4 separate regions of the Homo sapiens genome follow, and all the other regions are linked to region 1. The links are contacts of gene promoters, found by promoter capture Hi-C in blood cells and fetal thymus (Javierre and others, 2016). All regions are on one chromosome and are shown on one strand. Each heading gives the region's core, a stretch centred on a gene start or on the middle of the fragment in contact. The rest is flanking DNA. Distances are from core to core; before and after follow the strand shown.

What was found. Contacts are between HindIII fragments. The CHiCAGO score rates a contact against its expected background, and 5 or more counts as called.
Region 2: the fragment with the promoter of ZNF615 here is called in contact with the fragment with the promoter of ZNF583 in region 1 in 1 of 17 cell types (non-activated CD4 T cells); the score reaches 6.8 in non-activated CD4 T cells.
Region 3: the fragment with the promoter of ZNF160 here is called in contact with the fragment with the promoter of ZNF583 in region 1 in 1 of 17 cell types (naive CD8 T cells); the score reaches 5.8 in naive CD8 T cells.
Region 4: a fragment that was not itself captured here is called in contact with the fragment with the promoter of ZNF583 in region 1 in 2 of 17 cell types (neutrophils and activated CD4 T cells); the score reaches 8.2 in neutrophils.

What each region holds. Positions count from the first base shown.
Region 1 is chr19:56,402,594-56,405,651 of GRCh38, forward strand. It overlaps ZNF583 (zinc finger protein 583), which reads left to right and starts at 1,739. Exons shown (of 5, transcript NM_152478.3): 1 at 1,739-1,859. RefSeq lists an enhancer at 1,163-1,302 and a silencer at 1,763-1,972. The HindIII fragment of the contact is 8,045 bases long and covers 1-3,058 here.
Region 2 is chr19:52,006,645-52,009,973 of GRCh38, forward strand. ZNF615 (zinc finger protein 615) reads right to left here and starts at 1,567. Exons shown (of 7, transcript NM_001199324.2): 1 at 1,497-1,567; 2 at 649-686. It overlaps LOC124904755 (a long non-coding RNA gene), which reads left to right and starts at 1,654. Exons shown (of 2, transcript XR_007067321.1): 1 at 1,654-1,835. RefSeq lists enhancers at 1,328-1,937, 1,998-2,077. The HindIII fragment of the contact is 6,775 bases long and covers 1-3,329 here.
Region 3 is chr19:53,101,943-53,105,326 of GRCh38, forward strand. ZNF160 (zinc finger protein 160) reads right to left here and starts at 1,480. Exons shown (of 6, transcript NM_001322131.2): 1 at 1,323-1,480. RefSeq lists a silencer at 1,523-1,932. The HindIII fragment of the contact is 3,069 bases long and covers 1-2,722 here.
Region 4 is chr19:51,981,015-51,984,207 of GRCh38, forward strand. The region is part of intron 1 of ZNF350 (zinc finger protein 350); the gene reads right to left. It overlaps ZNF350-AS1 (ZNF350 antisense RNA 1), which reads left to right. Exons shown (of 3, transcript NR_103847.1): 3 at 1-353. Among named protein-coding and RNA genes, the nearest start is that of ZNF350, 4.2 kb to the right of the region's middle. The HindIII fragment of the contact is 2,712 bases long and covers 587-3,193 here.

The sequences.
Region 1 (3,058 bases), core at 489-2,988:
AGTTGCGTTTGTTTAATTTCCTCAAATAAAATTCCCAGCTTATATGATGCTCTTTGTCACTGGCAACTTTGGTCAGACAATTAAATGAAGCAATTGAAGGGCACAACAGGATTTTGGAAGGGATGGTACAGGATTGGGAGATAAACTAGAGATAGGAGTTTATAAAATATTTTCAAAGACAGATTGAAGAATAGGAATAAGAGTATGATATTGTGAAATATATATTTGATCTTCCTAGCATAGAACTTCTAAAATCCTTAGAAACTACAAAGTAACAGTAAAAACTCATTTTGTATGCTAATGAGTTGACAGCTGGCAACCCCTATAGAGTTTCAGGATGGGGACTGGTTATGGAAAGACCAAGACATGACTAGAAGGTTGGGACATTCAACCCCACCCCCAACCCTAAGGAGGGGACGGGATTTTAATCAACCATGCCTATGTAATGAAGCCTCTGTAAAACTCCCAAAAGACAGGGTTTAGAGAGCTTCCACCCAGCTGAACATGTGGAGGTTACTGGAAGGTGCAACACCCTTTTTTCTGTACTTTGCCCTACGCATCTCTTCATCTATATCATTTGTAATATCCTTTATAATAAACTAGTAAACATAAGTGTTTCCTGAGTTCCGTGAGCCACTCTAGCAAAATATCGAACCGCAAAGAGGGGGTGGTGAAAATCCCAATTTGAAGGTGGTGGAGTCAGATGTTCCAGAGGCTAGACTTTAGTGGGAAGTGGGAAGGGGGAGGCAGGCTTGGGGACTGAGCCCTCAGCGAATGGTGTCTGACCCATCTCCAAGTAGACGGCGTCGGAATTAAACTGGAGGACACCCAGCTGGTGCCCGCTGCAGAACTCACTGAACTCATTGCTTGCTTGAGATGTGTGGGAAACTCCCCTATATTTGGTCAGAAAAGTCTTCTGTTATGATTAGTTGTCGTTGAGATAATAGAAAAAAATGCACCTTGCGTTTTTTCCACTGATTCAGAGGGCATAACTGAAAGAATGAAGAACTGAAAGAATGATCTTAATACTCTGCTTCGCTTTTCTTGATAATACGCATTACTTCCCAATATGCATCAGTGTCCTTTATTATTAATTTTTTCCTATTGAATTCCTCCCGCATTAGAATGCTGCTCCATGAGGTGGGGATTTTGTCTGCTTGTTCACTGCTGTGTGCCCAGGGCCCACGACAGTGCCCGATACAGCAGGCGCTCAATAAGTGGCGAATGAAAGACAGGGCAAGGCGGAGAGAGAAGAAACAGAAAGGGAAAGAGAAAGCCCGGGCCGCCAGAGCGCTTAATCACACGTACATCCTACCGGGCCCCTCTCCAGCTGGCTCAGGCTCCACACTGGTCCTCCAGCTCCCTTTTCTCAGCGATGGACTCACAGCCCCACCCGGAGCGCTGGAGCGCGGACGCGGTCACTGCGCGTGCGCCTCACCGCGCTGGCACCCCGGCCTGGCAGCCTTTGGGGACCTGAACCAGCTGCGCCTGCGCAGGTGGAACGGGTGGAACGGGTGGGGGAGCGGACAGTCGAACGGCCTGAGAGGGCTCAGCTGGTCCGGGTGGGATTCTGAAGGCCAGCGGAGGTGGGCTTACTAGGGAAAGGGGCGCAGCAGTAACTACCCGCAACTGAGCGGCGGGATCTGCGGCCGCCCGGGGCCCTCGGCCAACATCCCAGCATCCTCTGCGCCGCGCCGGCCCCGGACTCCATTTCCCAGCGGCCCCTGCGGCCTGCCCTAGGGCTGCGGCGCCTTTGTGAGCGCGGCCGCCGGCCAGGATCGAGCCCTGGCCCGGGCCCTGGCCCAGCCCCGGCCTCCAAGGACCGCGCCGAAGGAGGTGCCCACTGGAGGGAGGAGGCGGTGAGGAGCGCGGGATGGAGCTGACGCCGGGAGCGGCCATGCCACCATGTGTGGGACCGTGTGTGACAGTGTGTGAGAATGTGTGAGACATTAAGGAACCGTGTGTGACAATGTGTTTGACAGTGTGGAATCGTGTGTGAGACCATGTGTGACTGTGTGAGAATTTGAGACCGTGTGTGACAGTGTGAGAATGTGAGGCCGTGTGTGAATATGTGTGTCAGTGTGAGACCATGTGGGACAAATGTGGGACTATGTGTGACAGTATGAGACTGGGTGTGAGAATGTGTGCGACAGTATGAGACCGTTGCCCCGGTGTATGCGGGAGCCTTTGACAGTATATGGGACCGTGTGGGACTGTGTGACACTGTATGTGCTTAAGACCACGTCACCATGTGTGAGACTGGGAATGTGTGACAGTGTTAAACTGTCATTATGTGTAGACCACGTGTGAACAGTGTGTAAGACCATGTCACTGTGTGTGTGACCTGTGTGTGTGGGATAATGTAAGACTGTGTGACAGTGTGTGTGACTTTGTGAACAGAGCTTGACCGTGTGTGTAGGATTAGATGAGACTGTGACAGTATGTGAGACCATGTCACCGTGTGTGAGGCTATGTGTGGTTGTGTACGGTGTGTGGCTGTTGATATGGGACCACATGAAACTGCGACAGAATTTGTGTGACAGTGTGTGAGACTGTGTCACTGTATGTGAAACTGTATGTGAACAGAGTTTTTGTTGTTGGACTAAGATTGTATGTGACAGTGTTTGAGATTGTGCATGACAGTGTGTGTGATTATGTGAGACTGAGGGAGATGGTGTGACTTAGCACTGTATGTCATCCCGACAGTGAGTGTGACAGTGTGACTGAGAATGGCCTTATATGACCCATTGTGAGAGCAGGGCGGGCTACAATGTGGGGGCATGTCCATAGGTTGCCAGGGGAGGTGCCAGAATGAGAAACTATGTGGTTTGTTGTCTGTGATTTGTGTGGGCAGGAAGCTGTGTGGGTGCTTGGAGATGCTGGTGTGCTCTGGGGTTTGGGAGACTGCTGTTGTGGTGGAGAGACAGAAAGATTGAGATAAAGGGGAAAAGATGGAGAAAGGGAGGGACGAGAGCTGAAAAGGGAGAGACAGACAGGAGCCTCAGCCTTAAGCCTGAAAAGCTGACCACGCTGGCTGCTTGTCCTCTGGCACAGTAGT
Region 2 (3,329 bases), core at 317-2,816, 4.4 Mb before region 1:
AAATCGACAACAAATAAGGAATGATTCACAAACAGAGGAATGGATGAATACTTAGAAAACCAGTAGAGCTGATCTAATACAATGTTAATGGTAAAAGCTAGGTGGTAGGCATATTGGTATTAACATTAAACTTCTTTCAATATTTCCATAGGTTCAAAAATTTTCACAAAATAATATGTTAGGCAGAGAGAAAAATATTGTAATACTAAGAATTAAGATGACCAAATATAAAATAAATATTTAAAATTAATTTATCTTTTGTTATAGATTATAAGGAAAGGGGAGTCAGAAAGCAATACACTGCAATAAAAGTAATAGTCTAGATTGAAGATTAAAGGCAGGAAAAACAAAATTCATGGATAAATGGATAATCATAAAATGTTCCTAAAAATAATACCTAAACATTTTAAAACATTTCACTTCTATCCAAATGTACGCATAAACTTAATGTGAATGCACTTATAGTACCACCGGCTCAAACAGTAAAAACAACTTCTAAATGTTTATTACATAATATAAAGCGAAAAAGATAATAGTACCATTTACATAATTTATCTGAATTATGAATATTAAGCACATAACATACACGTCTAAAATTGAAATATTCTGAAAATTTGACAAAGGTTATCTTTGAGTAACCGAGCTTACCATGGCAGAGATGTTATCTTACTTGTGTCAGAAAGAACCTGAAAAGAAATATCCAAGAGGATACGCTGGAAACTTGCAGGACAAAGGGTAGAAGCCGCATCTTAAATATAAAACATACTACTTTTAGGTATGCTAGATGACTGATCTCGCCAAAAACTTCCATTTCTGAGGATTCAAGACCAAGGGGTGATGGAAGGTGCCAAAGGGGATTTAAAAACCAGTCGTGGAGAAGGGTCTTGGGCAGAAGGGGAATGCTAATGAGCATCAATTCTGTTCCAGCAGCCAGGGCTGGGGCTAACCCATCACCTGCCATGGTTCCCAGGCCTCCAGAGCTGCAGCCCACATCGGAATCTGTGGCGCTACCACCACCGCCACCGGGATTAATTCCAAAACCTGGATCAGAAACCTCCGTACCTTAACCCCCAAGACAGTTCCTCAATCATTTAGTCCCAAACAAAACCTGAACCATAAACCGATTCGCTGACAAAACAAACCCTCCAGTTCGCAATCACTGAGCCCCGCCAAAGGACAACACCAAAGACACCAGAATGTGACTTGGGCACTCAGTAGCGGATCTCTAGAGATCTTTAACCACAAACTACACGAGGACCCTGTGACTGGTCCCAGAGGTACCCCGATCACACACACACACACCCTATCACGGACCTCTTGTAGTTCCCCTGCGATAGGAATCGGACCCACGCTAAGCTCCTGAAAGAATTCCACTGGCGTCGCCAAACGCTGGCGCCGACAGATACCAGTCCATCACCACTGTCCACGAACACGCCCAGCCACGGACAGAATTTCCTCCCCCGTCACCACAGCGACCACCCAGTGACTGAACTTACTTCCCAGAACTTGGTGGGCTCCGGCCTCATCTCTCGGCCTCCTCAGTGCCTGACGGCGACTATCCAGGGTCGGAGGCGTTCCCAGCGTTTGCGCAGATGCAAGATGGCCGCGCCCTCGTCGCCTTGGCTCCATGGGGGCCGCCATCTTTGAGTATCTGACGTACACAAGGCAAAGGGCGCGTTTTGGCGCTGGTGACCGGGGGTGACCGGGGGTGACCGGGGATGGCCGGGAAGATGAAAGAGCACTGAAACTGTCCCATTTCCTGGCACCTCAACCCTTCATAAATACGGGTCCATATACAGAGGCTCCAGTTTACACAAGACAAAAATGGCGTGGAGGTAAATCCCTTTCAGCAGCTGAATAGAAGGCTAAGATGGCCGCGACGTTTACACTTTGTACAAAGGTTAGGAAACAGTTCCTTGTGAGGGAAAAGGAGAACCGGCCGAGAGGGGACACTTCGGCCAAAGCCAGATTTCTAACAAAGTAGCTTGAAGCGCCTTTTGAACGCAGAAGAGGGCTGTTAGCTACGCTGACGGAACAGGGGTAGCAGTCACAGACTAGGTAATGAAAACGGTTGGAACGTGCCAAAATTATGTTGGGTGAAAGGCATGGGGAAAAGCCAGTAAAAGCCAGAAAGTATAGTTCCCAAGGCGGAGGGGAGAGCCTGGGACCCAGGTGGAGCCAAATATGAGGGCTGGACTCAGGAGAAGTGGCCAGAAATTAAGGGAACAGGACCACTTCAGTGAGAAAAAAAAGGTTGGGAAAGAGGCCGGGCGCGGTGGCTCACGCCTGTAATCCCAGCACTTTGGGAGGCCGAGGTGGGCGGATCACCTGAGAGCGGGAGTTCGAGACCAGCCTGACCAACATGGAGAAACCCTGTCTCTACTAAAAATACAAAATTAGCCAGGCATGGTGGCGCATGCCTGTAATCCCAGCTACTCGGGAGGCTGAGGCAGGAGAATCGCTTGAACCCGGGAGGCGGAGGTTGCTGTGGGCCAAGATGGCGTCATTGCACTCCAGCCTGGGCAACAGGAGCAAAACTCCATCTCAAAAAAAAAACAAAAGAAAGAAAGGTTAAGAAGGAGATCACGTTATACTACGTGTGCCAACCGCGAATAGTATGTGCAAAGTCATGGCAATGCTGAACTGTAAATATAAATCCAACCAAACTTCCTATATTAGAAGAATGAGAGAAAGGAAATGCCTGTGTGAATCTATGTGTGTGATATAGGTATCAGTATATAAATATACAGAGAAATTGTCAAACTATTTTTCAGAGTCAAGTTCGTGTTCCATTTGCTCTTCTCACCCTTGGTATATGAGAGTTTTTCTTTTTTTTTGTTTTTTTTTTGTCTCTTTTTGAGGCAAGGTCCACTCTGTTGCCCAGTCTGGAGTGCCTGGGGAGATCACAGCTCACTGTAACTTGGAACTCCTGGGCTCCTGAATAGCTGGGACTACAGGTGGGCACCACCACACCTGGCTAATTTTTTAATTTTCTGTAGAGACAAGGGTCTCACTATGATGCCCAGCTGGTCTTGAACTGGCCTCAAGCAGTCCTCCCACTTCATCCTCCAAAAGTGCTGGGATTACAGGTGTGAGCCACTTCACCCTTCACCCGGCCTATAAAGAGATCTGAAAAGAAATAAGAAAAAAGATGGGCGCGGTGGCTCATGCCTGTAATCCTAACACTTTGGGAGGCCAAAGCGGGAGGATTGCCTGAGTTCAGGAGTTTGAGATCAGCCTGGCCAACATGGCGAAACCCCATAGCTACTAAAATACAAAAAAAATTAGCTGGGCATGGTGTCTCAGGCCTGTAGTCCCATTTACTTGGA
Region 3 (3,384 bases), core at 230-2,729, 3.3 Mb before region 1:
ACTCACCTCTCACCTGGCCCCAGGGCGCCCCTCTTTCTTTATAACTATGTGTTCCTCTCCCCCATTTTGTGCCTCTCACTTTCACCTTGTCTCTCCAGCCTTTTTCCCCTTTTATCTTCCCCCTAGGATTCTGACGATGTTGTGCCTCTTTTTTCTTCTGCTGTTTCTCCCTTCTTTGTTTTTTCCCCTTATATCTGTTCTACTCCATTCTTCCAATTTGTTTCACCTCTTGTGGCGTTTTCTTTCCAATCTTTTCATCGTCCCAATCTCCATCTATTTCTGCCTCTTTCTTACCCCATCTCCGCGCCTCCTCTGCTCTCCCTGTTAAATCCCCTCTTCCCTGTTACACCCGCTTATCCCCACTCTCTGGCACTCCCAGATCCCAGGCCTCCCTGTGTTGTGGTGCTCCCTCTGCTCGCCTTGTCACCAGCTGTCCCCTCCAGCTGTCCCAGCACCACGCAGCTCTGTCTGCCCTCGGCCAAATCCTTTCTCCTCTCCCCCACTCTCTGTCTGAGGAGGCTCCTTCTTTGCTGTCCCTCTCCTTATCTTGTTGTCCTGCATCTCGGGACATCGAGCTTTTCTCTACATTTCGCCAATTGCTTTTCTGCCCCTGCTACTTTCTTGACTGCTTCTTTCACTCTGTCGCTGCAAATCTCTCACCCATCCTCCACTTTGCCATCTGTTTATGGGTCTCCCTCATTTTTCTTTTCTCTTTCTTGGTTTTTCCATCTCCTCTCAGTGGCTCTTTGTCTCTCTTTCTCCTGATTCCCTTGGGCCACACATTCACTGGAGGGTTTGTAGTAAGATGTCTGCATGTTGGAGGAGTACATTTTCCAGGGGGTGGAGCTGGGCAGGCAAAAACACCGGGTGTCACAGGACGGGCCCCGGGCACCTCCCCAACGAGGGCTCAAGGGAAGCGGTGACTGCGAAGGGGAGGCCTGGGGAGCAGCAGGGCCCGGCACGAGGAGGAGGGAGGTGGGGGGCGACGGCGCCTTAGGACAGGGGTGGGATGTGCAGGATCCCAGGACCAGGCGGAGGCGCGGCCTCCCCGGGACTGGGTCGGCGGCGCTGCGCTCCAGGGGCCGACGAGAGCGAGGCTGGGAGGCGCCCAGGGCAGGCGGTGAGGACTTTAAGCGATGCGGGGCGGGAGGAGGAGTCAGTAAAGGATTTTAAGCAGGAAAATCCTGCTTAAACGTTTAAAAAACCGGGAAAGGCCGTGTTTACTTGGCCCAAGGCAGAAAGACCGGGGGCAGGGACCAGCCTCAGGGCGACTTTAACCCAAAAGGAAGCGTCTCCGGGCCCACACAGCAAGGCCTATTTACCTGAGGTGGAGGGTGCGGTGCGGAGATTTTAAGTCCGTAGCGACCCCCGGGCATCGGGTGTGCGAATGGGGGACGGCGAGGCGCAGGTTGAGTCTACACAGAGGAACACTCATACGCCATGGTGTGATGCTTGCTCCGCACGATCCACTTCCGGGTCTGTGGGCAACTGCGCGAAGGAAAGCGACCGAGCGGCCCGGGGCGGGGTCCGAGATGGGCGGAACCGGAAAAGGGCGGGGCGTTGAGAGAGCCGGGCTGAAGCAGGGGCCGCCAGGCAGGGACCCCAGGGAAGGAACGGGGAGGAGCCACCGGGGAGGGGTGGGGAGTGACCAAGTGGAGGGACCCGGGGGCGGGCCGGGGAGGAGCCGCCGGGGAAGGGCGGGGAGGAACCGCGGGAAGGGACCGCGGGGGAGGAAGGCGAAGGGACCGCGGGGGAGGGAGGCAGAGGGACCGCCAGGAAGGGACCCGGGGGAGAGGCGGGGCTGGACGGGACACGTTAGGGTCTGCGATTTCGTGTGATGCCCACAGCCCAGCGCCCAGAGCCATCTGTAGTGTCTTGTGGAACGGCGTAGATGTTTCAAACGGTTTCAAGTTAAAAGCACAGTTGTGTAGGTTATTTTGGAAACCAAACTGCTTTCCTCTTAGAATGGAGGCGGTTTATGTTGAAAGCATTTTTTGCTAGCGCGTTTACCCAGTAATGTTATTGACGCTGAAGCAGCCCAGGAGTCTGGGAACATGGGTTGACACGGAGCGGTGATGGCATGCTGGAAAAGTTTCTGCGATTAAAATTAAGTAATTTAAAAGCCCTGAAATTAGCAGTAACTTTTAAAAAATAGATATAAATTGCATTGTCCTTTTTTATACTTACTATTCTATTCCGTGCGAGATGACAACCTCAAACGCCTATACTTTTTTTTTTTTTTTTTGAGCCGGAGTCACGCTCTGTCGTCCAGGCTGGGGTGCAGTGGCATGATCTCTGCTCACTGCAACCTCGGCCTCCCGGGTTCAAGCAATGCTCCTGCCTCAGCCTCCCGAGTAGCTAGGATTACAGGCGCCCGCCACCACGTTCTTTAGCGGAGATGAAGTTTCACCATGTTGCCTAGGCTGGTCTCGAATTCCTGACCTCAAGTGATCCACCCGCCTCAGCCTCCCAAAGTGCTGGGATTACAGGCGTGAGCCACCATACCTGGCCCCAGGAACTACTTTCACCTACTGAATATATATTAAGTCCTTTGCCACAAAAAGATAATATACATAATTTATCTCAGAACAATTAAGATATTTACCACTGTAAATGACAAATTCAGACTTAGAGAAGGAAGATTTTATTCAAAAGGACTATTGCAATAGAGAGAATGTTCCAATCACAAGATCTGAAAATGTCCAAGAGACACAAACTAAAAAGCTTTTTTTTCTTTTTTTCATATATGGAGGAGTAAACAAGGCTAGAAAGCACAAGCACAAGTTATGAGGCTGTGGATGAGCACTTGGCATGACTACAGTTATTCAGGGAAAGTTTGTTATGTTATGTTATGTTATGTTAAAAATGTTACATATTTCTTGGAGAGAGTCTTGCTCTGTCACCCAGGCTGGAGTGCAGTGGCGTCATCTCTGCTCACTGCAACTTTTCATCTACCAGGCTCAGGCAATCCTCCCACCTCAATCTCCCCAGTAGCTGGGACTACAAGCACACGTCACCATGCCTAGTTAATTTTTGTACTTTTTGTAGAGACGGGGTTTCGCCATGTTGCTCAGGCTAGACTCGAACTCCTGAGCTCGAGGGATCCCCCACACCTTGGCCTCCCAAAGTGCTGGGATCACAGGCGTGAGCCACCGTGCCCGGTCTATTTATTTTTTGAGAGAGCATCTTGCTCTGTTGCCCAGGCTAGAGTGCAGTGTCAAGACCATAGCTCACTGCAGCCTTCAACTCTGGAATCAAGTGATCCTCCTACCTCAGTCTCCCAAGTGGCTGGGACTACGGGTTTGCACCGCCACACTCCACTAATTTTTTTACTTTTTGCAAAGGCGGATTCTCACTATGTTGCCCAGGCAAGTCTTGAACTTC
Region 4 (3,193 bases), core at 693-3,192, 4.4 Mb before region 1:
GGGATATGCAGGGAGCCAAAGGCCTGTGGGACGTGACCAACTCAGCATTCTGCTGGAGGCTATATGATCAAACAGCAAACTGTTTATCATGAATACAGGATGTGAGCAAACTCAGGACTGCTCCTGCCAACATAAGGTTTGCTGGAGGCAATCACTCCCTGGCACCGAGGTTATCTACTGCGACATCTAGAGAATGCAGTCTTGCAAGCCTACTCTGAACTGAGCAGCCGACCCCTTCTTCCACCCCCCCACCCTCCTATCTCTTTTGCCTAATAAATACGGAGGGCTGTGTAAAGCTCAGGGCCCTTGTCCACTAGAGGTAAGGTGCTCCCTGACCCCTTCTCCCAAATATACTCTTTTGTCTCCTGTCTTTATTCCCACGTTCACCCCCATTTGTGCAGTCCCATGGGTCCATGTGGGTTACGGCCCGCCACCGCGCCTGGCTGATTTTTGTATTTTTAGTAGAGATCGGATTTCAGCATCTTGGTCAGGCTGGCCTTCAACTCCGGATCTCATCACACACCCGCCTCAGCCTCCCCACATGCGGTTATTATAGTTGATATGTCTGAACCAAAATGATATGGGAAGCTTGAGAATAAAAGGTTGGAGACAATATGCCACAGAGAGAGTAACCAAAGATAATCTGTTATAACTATATCTCAGACAAAACTGACCAGAAATCCTAAAGAATTAACAGAGAGAAAGAGAAACAATGCTCACTGAAAAGAGGTGAAATTTGGCTCTTCATTCATAGAAATACACCATATGTATACCCCTAACAACAGTCTTGAAATGTATACAGCAAAAAATAGAACCAAAAACAAGAAATAGAAAATTCAGACTAAAGACTTTAACAGACCTTTCCTAGTAACTGACAGAACAGACCATCAACAAACAAAATAAAATTTATAAATGAGAAAGAAATGAATCTTTTATCTGAGGAATGTGACTCCCTTTAAATTATCAGGTCTAGAGAGGCATTAAAATGTGACAGCAGTCTTTCTGATAGGGGTTCCCCTGAAAAAAAGAAAAAAGAAAAAATTAAAAACTAAAAAAAAAATTTAATGTGACAATAGTCACATCTCATTTCCCCCTCAAGCTAAATAATTATCTCTTAAAGCCACTTGCTATGTAGGCTCTAGACTAACTCACACTGAGTAGCCATAAAATGCCATTCACTGGACATCCTAACTCATAAAACCCCATAGTTAACAATGTACAGCCAATTGTTAATTGATATTATTTCTGTAAACCAATGAGAATTCTTGCCAAACAACTTTATGTCAGCTCACGGTTTGTTCCCTTTTGACTTTAAAACCTGTTTCTAACAAAATCCTAACAGAGCACTTAACCAAGGCAACCTGAAAGTATTTTCCCAGGCAGCTGTCCTCATTTTGGCTCAAGTAAACTCTTTAAAATTGTATTTTGTGCAGTTTCCTCTTTTAGGCTGACATAAACGATATCATTTAGAAGAACTCGAATATATTTTTAAAATTAGATTTACTGAGATAAATTTTAACAGTTTTAAATAAATGCAAAGATGTACTATAAAGATGGGCTGGAAAACAAAGCATTTTAAAAATGTCAAGTCTCCCAAATCTACAGATTCAATGAAATCACAGTCACAATCCCAAACTGATACTGAAAAGTTTAAATAGCTATAAACTTTTTTTTAAAGTTTGAAAAAAAAGTTAGAAGACTTGCCATATCAGTTATGAGGACTTATAAAGCTACTTTAATTAGGACAGCACAATATTAGTACAATAACAGGCAAATAGGACAAAGGAACAGAATAAAATCCTTATAAGCAGAATTAAGCACATATAGAGACTCAATGGCAATGATAGCACTACAGGGAAGTAGATAAAAGCTGTCTTTTCAATAAATGGAACTAAGGGCGCCGTGGCTCACGCCTGTAATCCTAGCACTTTGGGAAGCTGAGGAAGGTGTGGGGGAAAGAGAGATCAGACTGTTACTGTGTCTATATAGAAAGAGGAAGACATAAGAAACTCCATTTTAATCTGTACAAAGAAAAGTTCCTCTGTCTTGAGATACTGTTAATCTGTAACCCTAGCCCCAACCCTGTGCTCAGAAACGTGTGCTGTGTTGGCTCAAGGTTTAATGGATTTAGGGCTGTGCAGGACGTGCTTTGTTAAAATGTGTTTGCAGGCAGTATGCTTGGTAAAAGTCATCACCATTCTCCAGTCTCAAGTACCCAGGGACACAATGCACTGCGGAAGGCCGCAGGGACCTCTGCCCAAGAAAGCCTGGGTATTGTCCAAGGTTTCCTCCCACTGATACAGCCTGAGATATGGTCTCGTGGGAAGGGAAAAACCTGACCATCTCCCAGCCCAACACTCGTAAAGGGTCTGTGCTGAGGAGGATTAGTGAAAGAGGAAGACCTCTTTACAGTTAAAATAAGAGAAAGCCATCTGTCTCCTGCTCCTCCCTGGGAATGGAATGTCCCGGTATAAAACCCAATCATACATTCTATTTACTAAGATAGGAGAAAACCACCTTATAACTAAAGGTGAGACATACTGGCGGCAATACTACTCTTTACTACACTAAGATGTCTGTGTAAAGTCAAACATAAATCTGGCCTACGTACACATCAAGGCACAGGACCTTTCCTTAAACTTATTTATAACACAGAGTCCTTTACTCACATGTTTTCCTACTGACCCTCTCCCCACCATTACCCTATAGTCCTGCCACACCCCCCTCACCAAGATGGTAAAAATAGTAATCAATAAATACTAACAAAACTCAGAGACCAGTGCCGGTGTGGGTCCCCCATATGCTGAACACCAGTCCCCTGGGCCCACTTTTCTTCCTCTGTACTTTCTCTCTGTGTCTGATTTCTTTTCTCAGTCTCTCATTTCCACCTTGCAAAAAATACCCACAGGTGTGGAGGGGCAGGCCCCCTTCAGGCAGGTGGACCACTTGAGCCAGAGTTGGAGACCAGCCTGGCCATCATGGTGAAACCCCATCTCTACTAAAAATACAAAAATTAGCCAGGCAAGGTGGCACCTGCTGGTAATTCCAGCTACTCGGGAGGCCGTGGCACAAGAATCACTTGAGCCCAGAAGGCAGAGGTTGCAGTTGAGCCAAGCACGCCACTACACTCCAGCCTGGGCGACGAGAGCAAGACTCTATCTAAAAAAATTAAAAAAAAAAAAAAAAATCAATA